Regions from separate parts of the Homo sapiens genome. Here region 2 is linked to region 1. The links are contacts of gene promoters, found by promoter capture Hi-C in human tissues and cell types (Jung and others, 2019). All regions are on one chromosome and are shown on one strand. Each heading gives the region's core, a stretch centred on a gene start or on the middle of the fragment in contact. The rest is flanking DNA. Distances are from core to core; before and after follow the strand shown.

The links. Contacts are between HindIII fragments. The study calls those that stand out against the background at their distance.
Region 2: the fragment with the promoter of AP4B1 here is called in contact with the fragment with the promoter of CTTNBP2NL in region 1 in 1 of the 25 tissues and cell types used here (stomach).

What each region holds. Positions count from the first base shown.
Region 1 is chr1:112,393,489-112,398,979 of GRCh38, forward strand. It overlaps CTTNBP2NL (CTTNBP2 N-terminal like), which reads left to right and starts at 2,726. Exons shown (of 6, transcript NM_018704.3): 1 at 2,726-2,784. RefSeq lists a silencer at 2,924-2,973. The HindIII fragment of the contact is 13,857 bases long and covers 1-5,491 here.
Region 2 is chr1:113,900,897-113,906,638 of GRCh38, forward strand. AP4B1 (adaptor related protein complex 4 subunit beta 1) reads right to left here and starts at 3,903. Exons shown (of 10, transcript NM_001253852.3): 1 at 3,709-3,903; 2 at 1,742-1,966; 3 at 859-989; 4 at 340-487. The coding sequence starts at 3,821. It overlaps DCLRE1B (DNA cross-link repair 1B), which reads left to right and starts at 4,430. Exons shown (of 4, transcript NM_022836.4): 1 at 4,430-4,879. The coding sequence starts at 4,691. It overlaps AP4B1-AS1 (AP4B1 antisense RNA 1), which reads left to right. Exons shown (of 5, transcript NR_125965.1): 5 at 1-341. RefSeq lists enhancers at 3,539-3,598, 3,679-4,238, 4,269-4,318. The HindIII fragment of the contact is 11,361 bases long and covers 827-5,742 here.

The DNA of each region.
Region 1 (5,491 bases), core at 1,476-3,975:
ACAAATCTAAGATATTGTTATGAACCATTTTTTACCTCTGCGTACACCTATGCACCAGACTCTAAATTTATTTACAAGGTTTATGTATTGAAGAATCACAAACCTCCATAACTCTCTCACTGCTACAATCTGAAAGATACACGAGGTTCACAAGCCCTGCCTGTTCCCTACTTCTAGGGGTGAAAAATTAAAAGGAAAGCAATCTGAACACCCTCAAGACTCTGAATCCTACAAGGCAGGGATGTTCTCATTTTTGCTGAGTCCTTCTACACTCATTTAGGAATACGCAGAAGGGAAGCCAGGAAATCAGGGGAGTTGCCCATTGCTCTAAAGGAAGTAGGTCACAGAGCACTGCTCCCACCCAGTCAGCCAGGGAAAAGAATGGGTGGTGGTGGGTTAACAGCTACAAAGGGAATGAGGGAAAGAAAGGAGGACCTGCCGGGCATGGTGGTTTACGCCTGTCATCCCAGCCACTTTGGGAGGCCAGCAGGTGGATCACCTGAGGTCAGGAGTTTGAGACCAGCCTGGCCAACATGGCAAAACCCCATCTCTACTAAAAATATAAAAATTAGCTGGGCACAGTGACAGGCGCCTATAATCCCAGCTACTCGGAAAGCTGAGGCAGGAGAATCGCTTGAACCCAGAAGGCGGAGGTTGTAGTGAGAGATTGCGCCATTGCACTCCAGTCTGGGAGACAGAGCGAGACTCCATCTCGATAAAAAAAAAAAAAAAAAAGAAAAGAAAAACAAGGGAGGAGCTGATTCACTAGAACAACTCTTAGAGTGACTCAGAAGCCAGCAGAAAATAGCTTGTTCTCCCACATCTGCTTCATTGTCAGGCGATGAGGCACTTCCTCATTGCATACACATAGGCAGAGCGAAAGGGAGGAGGAGGAAATGGGATTTTTCAAGTTCCTTTGCCTGCTCCAGCACCTAACACTCTGTATTTGTAATCATTTCAGACATTTTGTTTCAAGTCAATATTTATTGAGTACCTACTCTGTGCCTGGCCCCTCATTTTAGCTTTCAGATTGTCAGTTTTCAGAACACAAGGCATAATGCCTTTCTGAAGTTCAGTATACCCTGCATCATTACTCCAGATTCACTTACACTGCTATCGAGCACCTTCACTCATAGTCTTGCTATCCTTCATATACAGAGATGACCCTCCCAAGCCTAAAATCAACAGGGGGAGGCATAGAGCTGTCCTTCTGGCTCTAATGTTTGCTTTACCATCATCCACGCCCATTCTTAGTCCAGCATGTGAGAGCCAGTGTGAAGTGAGCAGAATATGGCATAAGTATGGAGTCATACATCCTTACTGGAAATTCTTTACCATTTACTAGCTCTATGACTTTATTTGACTTCTCTGAATCTCTATCTTCTCATCTGTAAATTGGACACAATGATGTCTATCCTACACTGTAGGATAGATTTCTCATACAGCACTGAAAATGACATCAAATACCATTAAATGAAAGTACATGGCACAGTGATAACATGATAAATACTTGTTTACTTCTTTCAGACTATAATCGCACAAACTGATCACATCCCTCAGTCAGACTGTAAACTGCATGAGGCAGGCTGCATCTGCCTTGGGGACTGTCTGCCTAGGCAAGCACTAGGTCCCTAATGCTGTCTTGCGAATTATAATTGCTAAGTTTAGGGATAATGTATTAAGTGTACTACATTATTTATGCATTATGAATATTCGTCTCAAATATTTATTATATTGTATTTTAAATAATGTGGTTATTGTAAATGTAACCAGCTGCATCAATCTGTGAGCTGACAGCCATTCTGTGGAAAAGGAATTCAGAAACTTTGACCTTAGGTAGGGATACAACTAGTTATACATCCACTCCCCTCTCTGAGTTATTTGGTCCTGCCTAAGACTTGCTGCCACCAAGATCTGCATTCCTGTGTTCACAAGGCAGACATTCCTTGCATCCTCTGTACTCTCCATTGTTTCAACTTCACTGCAAACACCATTCCCCACAATATAATGAGGCCAAGGAAAGAAAAAAGTCGCCTCAGCTGGCAAGCATAGGGTGGAAAAACCTGCCACACAAATTTGCAATTATTTGACTTCCGCCTGGAAGGCAGGTCGGCTGGGTTTATGTCCCCCAAAGTTAGTATCCTCTTCTGTACAAAATGTGGTTGAGAGAAGGGTGATCTCCAGGTGTTTCATCTTTGCACCCTTGCTTCCAGCACCACGCCCACAGGCGCTTCCAGAAAAAAGAAAAAAAAAAAGGGAGCAAGGAAGCCAGGTTTTTCAACAACGAATTCATTCTAATGCAGACACCAAAGCCCACTTCATTTATTAACATTCTGGATAAAATCCCAATCGATTAGGCCACCAGAGCCCTCCATTCCTAAACTCCGCGTACAGTCAGGTAAAAGCACGAAGCACTAGTCACGGTCCTGCCCAGACTTTTCACGCAGAGGTGGAAAGTTGCAGACCCCGAGCCGGGAGGGGCGCGAGCCCACCCTGAAGCCCAGGACCCAGGAGGGCGCTTCCTCCCGGAAGTGACGCGAGCTCAATCCCGGCCTTGCTCTTCCCAAACAAAAGGGATCTTGGGGCCCCGGGAGGAGCCTGAATGACTTTGGAGAAGCCCCGCCTCCAGCCGGCGCGGATTGGGGCCGAGGCTGGAGAAGCAAGGAGGCGATTGGCGCTGGTGAATGCCAATGCCCCCGCCGGGCGGCTGAGGGGGCGGAGCCTCAGCCGCTGTGGATGGGGAGTGGAGGCGGAGGGGAGCGGAGCCCGGAGCGTCGTGGAAAGGTAGGAGCAACTATCCCTGGGGCTTGGTGATGGCTGGGAGGCCGGGTTCTCAAGAGCAAAGCAAGGATAGGGGCACCGGTAGCCTCCCGCCGCCGTCTCAACGGCCTCTGGGCCCATCCCCTGAGGGGGCGGGGCCGTCTCCTCCACCTCCCGGTATTCCCCGAGGAGGCGGCTCCTCATCCTCCGAGGGTCCTCACAGCTACTTTTTGTCCCTCGTCGATTCCCAGCTCCTCAGAAGGGGCTTCCCTCTGACACCCCTCATTCAAAGGCACCTCCCACCCCGCACCTCAGCCTTGGCGGAGAGGACTCACAGGTACCGATTCTCTAGGCTGCCGCCCCCAACCCCATTTCGTACCCCCGGAAGGCCAAACATCCCTCCCTACACCTGTCCCTGCTCGCCAGGGTGGGACTGGAGCTGCTTTCCTCCGTAAGATAAAATTGGTGTTTCCCAAAAAGGAGGGATGGGGCGAAGCAAAAATCAAAGACCGACCTAGACAGCCAGCTTTACGGAGGAAGCGGCTTCTCCCACTTAAGTTCTTCCCATCCCCCATTCTCTGATGCTCAGTCTTCCTCCCGCAGCCCCTCGCATCCTCTGGCCTCTTGTGAGGAGTCGAGAGCTCTCCTGTTTTGGGACTGTTTTGGACTGTGAAAGAGGGAGAACTAGGACCTCCTCTCCTTCACCCTTTGTACCTTCCTTCTACTTTCTGTTCCTTCTGGGAGCACCCAGCCTCTAAGGGTTTCTTAGGTTTGAATTGCGTTTCATTTTTCCTTTTCCACCCTATTTCCTCCCTGAGAACTTGATGAAAAGCCATCTTATATTTCACAGTGAGGTGGGTGTGTTGGATATCTGCAGAGCTGGCTTTGTGTGGGCAGGAATGCAGTATATGTTGCTTGACAGTCAATGAATAACACCATGTTTTCAAATGAAACAGTATACATAAGTAAATAAGTAGCAGTGGATTAGGAATGAGTATATCCCAGTCTAGGGTGGGCTGGTCCATTGCTCAGGGAGACTGCAGTTAACCTTGAAGGTATACTGCAGGTTGAAACAAAAGACAGGAAGTGTTTGAAGAAAATTCAGGGTCAGTCATCTAGGTTTATGATTAATCTAGTCCTATGTCCTTTGGTAACTCTCTAACCCCTTTTTTATAGTGTCCTCCCCGCCCCCAGGAAACATTCATGTATATTTTGATTGGTTTTACGATCATCTATCAAAATTTAGAGGATGAAAAGTAAGAACAATTTTTAAATCTCAGAGATAAGAGTAAATAAAGGCAAGGTATTCTAGCTATTCATGTTTACCAAAAAGTGCCTCTTCTAGTGTGCTCCTAAAGGTTTTGTCAAGTGGTCTTCATTTCAGCAGGTGCAAAGTGTTGATTTTGACCTCATGTTAATGTCGTTGAATCCCCAGTAATCATCTATTGCTAGCGCTTTTATATATTAAAATTTACCATGTTTTTAGCATAGTTTCTTTTGCTTCCAATCTCAAGTCTACCTCCCCTCTGTCAGCTATAGCCAAAGCTGATGGCAATAAAATGCAAGGAGTTGGAATCACGGAGGGTGATTGTAATGACTGTTGTCTTTTACCTTCTTGATTAGACTTTCTGAAGGTAGACTTCCTAAAGATAATTACTTTTGAATAGTTAGGTTTGAAGTTTTCAGAGCCACTCGGTGCTCACAGGTCTTCTCAGTGATTGTTTCCAAATCTCCAGTAAGAAAGTACAAAGAAGAAACTGGAGGGTGTCTCTAGCAAACGCAATGTGTGCTGCAATAGAAGGGTAAGACGTGAGCTCCCAGCAATAACAGCAGAAAAAACTAAAAGCAGAACAGAAAATCCCAAAAAGATAAGTTGTATTATATCAACAGAGAACAGAAAATAAACTAAGGTAAGAGACTAAGCAAACCAAAGTTGTGATTGCCGAGGTTTAATAGGAAAAAGCAAATAATATTCTTTTATTATTTAGCACAGTAAGCAAGATCTGTTTGTTACACTTTTGGGTCTTGAAAATCTTTCCTTTAACCTTTTCAACACCTGTTTGGTCATGCTAGGTGAAGAAAAGCATAGTATGCAGAGGATAGATGTCTGATCTCTCTCCTTGAATTATAAATTCTTTGAGGGCAGATAGTAGTATTTTTTGTTTTTCATCTTTATATCTTTCACAGTTCCTAGTATATAGTATGACTTCATGAGTGTTTGTTTAACTTAGTTTGAGGCTGTCACCTTAGGGTAGACTGAAAGGCAATGTACTGATTAGATTTGGCACAATTTGTTAGTATAAACGGCCTACTTGTTGTCTTCATTTAACTTGATTTTCCCCATCTTCTGTCTTATGAAATTCCAGTGTCTTAAGTGACTAAAATTTTGAATTTCTTATAAAGAAATATCTGTGAGGCAGGGTGTGGTGGCTCATCCCTGTAATCCTTGCTACTTGGGAGGCTGAGGCAGGAGGCTTGCTTGAGCCCAGGTGTTTGAGGTTACAGTGAGCTATGATCATGCCACTGCACTCTCCAGCCTGGGCAGCAGAAAGAGACCCTGTCTCTTAACAAAAAAAAAAAAAAAAAAAGTTAAAAAAATATATATGTAATCTGCTAGTTAGAAAATACTATTTTACTGTCATGAAATTTGAACCAGACTTAAGAACGTAATGAGTGCTAATCATTTTAGGATTTTATTGTTCTAAATATCTGACCTGATAGGAATGAAGTG
Region 2 (5,742 bases), core at 2,653-5,152, 1.5 Mb after region 1:
CAGAAGTTTGGGACCAGCCTGACCAACATGGTGAAACCCTGTCTCTACTAAAAATACAAAATTAGCCGGGCATGGTGGCGCATGCCTATAATCCCAGCTACTCGGGAGGCTGAGGCAGGAGAATTGCTTGAACCCAGGAGGCGGAGGTTGCGGTAAGCCGAGATAGCGCCATTGCACTCCAGCTTAGACAACAAGAGCAAAACTCCGTCTCAAATAATAATAATAATAATGGTTAACTTTCTTTTCTACCCCACATAAGTTGTTCAATACTTTAATACATCAACAAGATCCCACAAGGTAGCAGATCTCATAATAAAAAGAGTGCTGAGGCATCCAAACCGATTTAAGAGATGGTGAGCAATGGGCTTATTGATGACAACGCCTCCTTCCTGTTTCAGAATTTCCTCTAGAGACCTCAAGCAGTTCACAACTACAATTGGATCCTGGTCACGCAGCAAACTGTATAATTCATTTACCAGGGCACCATCTATAAAAAAGAACAAAGTTCTTAGATAAAGAAGGAAAGCTTCAGAGTAACAAGGATGTAGCCAGAGTAATAGCTCCAGGTAGACAAAGTTGAACTTCTCTGCTACAAAAATGACAAAGGCCACACTAAAGTGCAAGGCAAAAAAAAAACTGCCATGTCCAGACTGTTCTAAGCAGCTAATACAAAGGATCTCATTGGGGCCCCAGAGAAAGGACTTCTCATCTCCAGAAGATACCAAGCCCTGCATCCTACTTAAAGAGATATGTACAGAACTGGGGCCACATTATTATTTTCTACCAAAGCCACACAATCTTTTTTAAAGTTATACATAATGGAGGCACATTGACCATGATGGATTACACTGAACTTACCTACTTCAGAGTCTCCATGAAGATTATGCATCTTGGCACATCCAAGGACTGCCACTCTCCTGACATATGAAGCCTTATCCCGCAGACCATTGAGAATAGGCTGTTGTATATACTCCTGCACACCAGGCATCCTAAGCAACACATCCTGGAGTTAGCCAGATTCTGAAATACTAATTTTGACATACCTCAGCCCCTGTTCACCTAACAGATGGTTTAGTAGATGCTGCACCCATCAGATCATGAAGAATTGCAGAAAGCCTCTATCAAGCTTAAAAAGCCATAATTTGACTTTTCTGTTTTTTTCTTGTTTTTTTCAAGATGGGGTCTCACTTTGTCACCCAGTGGCCCGATCATAGCTCACTGCTGCCTTGAATTCCCGGGCCCAAGCCATCCTCCTGCCTCAGCCTTCCTAGTAGCTGAGACTACAGGTGCGTGTCACCATGCCCATTTAATTTTTTGTAGATATAGGCTCTCACCATCTTGCCCAGCTGGTCTCAAATTCCTGGGCTCAAGCAATCTTCCTGTCTAAGCCTCCCAAAGTGCTGGGTCTACAGGCATGAGCCACTGTGCCCAGCCTAATTTGACTTTTCATTTGGAATAATGATGCACAGGCAGCAAAAAAAGATATACACATAATTGTTTAGAGATATTTAACCAAAACTGAGGACTATTTTACTTAGAGTGAGAATCAAAAACTCCCTCTAATAAAATTATATGATACAGGTTATTAAGCCAAAGCAGTGGCTGAAAATCTGAGTTCAGGGTACAATAATGTTTTCCCCAGTATTAAGGAGCTCAAATAAATTATCCTCTTTAAAAACCTACCCTGTGATCACTTGAATTCATCAGCCATTTAGGACCAGACAGAGAAGAGGGTACTCACCTGAGGCTACACATGCTCCGTAACGCCAGCCCTCGCACCATTGGATTGGGGTCTGAGCAGTCTTTGCACAGCGTATTGATGGCCAGGAGAGCCAGATCTGGTTTCAGGGGAGCATATGTGCACATGTACAGATAAACCAACTTCTTCTGGACAATATCTACAGTGGCACTGGCCTTCACCATTTCCATAAAAACACCAGACATGTCCAAGCCTTGAGTCATGTACCTGAACAACGCACATGACAGAAGGAAGTAAAATGCAAAATCCCCAACTTACAATGGAGGGAGTTTTACTTACATATCTCCTGATTACCCAACTAGATTGTGATCTCTTAGAGGGTAGCAGCCAGGATTACCTTGTCTATTATATCACACAGTACTTCATACCATAGGCCTACAATAAACATTATTCTTCTATTCATTCAACAAACACTTATTATTATTTTTGAGACAGAGTCTTGCTCTGTTACCCAGGCTAGAGTGCAGTGGCACAATCTCGGCTCATTATAAGCTCCGCTTCCCAGGTTCAAGCGATTCTCCTGCCTCAGCCTCCCGAGTAGCTGGGACTACAGGTGCGTGCCACCACGCCCAGCTAATTTTTGTATTTTTAGTAGAGACGGGGTTTCTCCATGTTGGCCAGGCTGGTCTCGAACTCCTGACTGCAGGTGATCCACCCGCCTTGGCCTCCCAAAGTGCTGGGATTACCAGCGTGAGCCACCGCACCCAGCCTCAACAAACACTTATTGAATCCCTAGTACTTTGGTGAAATTCAACTTTTACATCCAGGGACATGCTCTTGGGACATAATCTTGAAGAAGGTGTGGTCTCAAACCTCTAGGAACTTCAAATCTATTAATGAGCCAGATGAGAATACCGTTAATTACAGTATGATAGATAAGTACTTAAACAGAAGTATTGTACAAGGTGTAGAGGGGATTCAGAGGTCTGACACTGGCAGGAAGTCAGAAAATGTTTCTTCACAGAGGAAGTAATACTTTAGCTGAATGAGCAGGAGCTCACTAGGCAGATGTAATAGCAAGGTAAAGATACATGCTATGAGGTAAGTAGACATGAGCAGGAGCAGCACACATTTTTTTAAGAGTCTGTAGGTAGTTGAATTAACAGCTTGTTCCTTGGGTGCTGTGATAAGTTTGGACTTTATTGTTTCTCAGACTGGTCTCCTACTGGAACCAACTGAAATGTTTATTAAAAATACAGATTCCTGGGTTCCCTCCCACCCTACTGAAATCAGAATCAGTCCCTGGACTGGATGACAAAAAGCACCCCAAGGGATTTTTATGCATAGTAAAGTTTGTGAACCATAGCTGTAGGCAAGAGTTATGTGTTCAGGTATGTATAATGGAAAAATTCTGTCTCAAATGAGGCAAAGTGGCCTACTAGTAAGCTGCTGCAATTGCTTTATTGATGAAGGCCTGGACCAGAACAACAATGCTAATAAACAAGAGAGGATGGATATTTAGAATTATGAATTCAAACCATCTGACATAAGAAGTGAGAGATCAGGTGTCCTCAAGGTTGGCTCCCACGCATAGTCGGCTGCTGGTGGCATTCATCAACACAAATGTAAGCTGAACAGGTTTGAGGAAGACGGAAGAATGTCCGGGCTATTTCGGACATACTTTTGATAAACCACGCACGTGGAAATGCCAAGCAGGCAGTGGGATACGTGGGTCTGAAGCTAAAAAAGGAAGTCTGTACTAGCTATATTATAGATCCAAGAGTCACCAGTAATTGCTCAAGCCCGTGATATGGAGGAAACTACCCAGCTGAGTAAAAGATGCTGCAGAGGGGAGACTGACATGGTACTCCAAAGCAGCAGGACGAAGACCGAACCATATAACTGCCACGTGTGAAAGCTAATTCACCCTTTCAGAGAGACTGGGGCTAGTGAGCCCTGATGGGGATTGCAAAGGGAGCAGTTAGCACGCGAAGGGAGGTAGGTGATACCTAATCACTCGCTGGATGACATTCCGGTAGCGCAGCCTATCAGCTTGAATGTGAGGATTGCACAGAGCCTTCTTCAGCTCCTTCACCACGTCCTCGGAGCCAAGGTACGGCATCTTCCTAAGAGTCACAGGGCAGCTCCCACAGCTCCCACGGTAACTCGAGGGCTCCTTCTCGTCCTGATGTGGGAGCCTGAGTAAAGGAAATATGAGTCAGTGAAAATACAAAAGGCGAGATCTCGCCTCAGGCTCGGCTTCCGTAGGGCCGGCACGCTGGCCCTGACACACTTCCACGCCCTCCGCGACACCGCGAGCCCCACCCTAGGCTCTTCAGGCCCTACCGTCGGCCGGCAGGCCGTTCGCCCCGCCCACAGATCGCTCCCGCTACTTCTAGGTCCTCCGCCGGATTTCCAGCGCCGCGTCCGACTGACCGCAGACCCCTCCCTCTCCAGTTCCAGCCTTAATTCCCCCTCCACGCCGTTCTCATCGCGGATAGGCCCAATCTTGCTTTCTGCGGAAGTCCCGCCCCCTTGTCAAGAGACCAAACAGAAGACCGCTGCCGGTCTCCCCGCGAGCGAGCGCTAAGCGTAGTCCCGACTCCGACCTTAGGATGCCCTTCCCCCAACCTCTCACTCTCCAGGCGCAGCTGCGCGGCTCCCTCTGGTGGAGCTGCGGCGGGCAATCGGAAATCGGCTACTTTGGCCTGTCTCCTCCCTGCAGCGCGCGCTTTGAGTGCCCGGCTCGGCCTCCGCTCCCGCGCGGTTGGGAGTGTCCAGCGCCCTCCGCGATTTGGGCTCCAGCGGGCAGGGTGACTTCCTTTTTCTGCCCACTCTGGTAACTTATTGCTCTGCTGGGCTCTTTCCCTTAGGGTCTCTGGCCCTGTTCTTGCCCCAGCATGACTTTTATCGGGACGCCGTTGTGGAAGCCTCACGCAGGAGCCCTGCCCCCGTGGAGAAGATCCCACTGGTGACTCCAACCCTACCACCATGAATGGGGTCCTGATCCCCCATACGCCCATCGCAGTGGACTTCTGGAGCCTGCGCCGGGCTGGCACCGCACGTCTCTTCTTCTTGTCTCACATGCACTCGGACCACACCGTGGGCCTGTCTAGCACCTGGGCCCGGCCCCTCTACTGCTCCCCAATTACAGCCCACCTCTTGCATCGTCACCTACAGGTATGGGGCTGGAGTCGGTCTCCGAGAGCTGGTCCAGGCATCTGGGTTGGGACTTCAACCTGTCATTCTTGGAGTCATAGAATGGGGGCCACGAAAACTGATTTGGAAGTTGTTTGAACCCAAAAATGCATCTTTAACCCAGAATAGGAACGTGTTTTCGAAGTGACCAACTTGAGATAGTTAGCCATAAGTTGAGGAGATATTTTAATCCAGCCAAGGAAACTATTCCTACCTTTATAAGTAAGCTAGGCCGATGTTTCCCAAACTTGCCTTTTTTTTTTTTTTTTTTTTTTTTTTTTGAGACGGAGTCTCGCTCTGTTGCCCAGGCTGGAGTGCAGTGGCGCAATCTCGGCTCACTGCAGCCTCCGCCTCCCGGGTTCAAGCGATTCTCCTGTCTCGGCCTCCTGAGTAGCTGAGATTACAGGCGCACGCCACCACGCCCAGCTAATTTTTTGTATTTTTTGTGGAGACGGGGTTTCACCATGTTGGCCAGGCTGTTCTCTAACTCCTGACCTTAAGTGATCCGCCCGCCTCAGCCTCCCCAAGTGCTGGGATTACAAGCGTGAGCCACCACGCCCCGCCTAAACTTGCCTCATCTTAAGAATCCACCTAATGTGCTGGGTGGTTCTCCAGCTCTCTCCCCACCCCACCCTTAAGTCTCCAAGAGATTAAGATCAGGAGTAAGTTTGGGAATTGCTGACTAGACTGTTTGCTGAACTCTTTTTTTTTTTTTGAGATGGAGTCTCGCTCTGTCGCCCAGGCTGGAGTGCAGTGGCGCAAACTCGGCTCACTGCAAGCTCCGCCTCCCGGGTTCACGCCATTCTCCTGCCTCAGCCTCCCGAGTAGCTGGGACTACAGGCGCC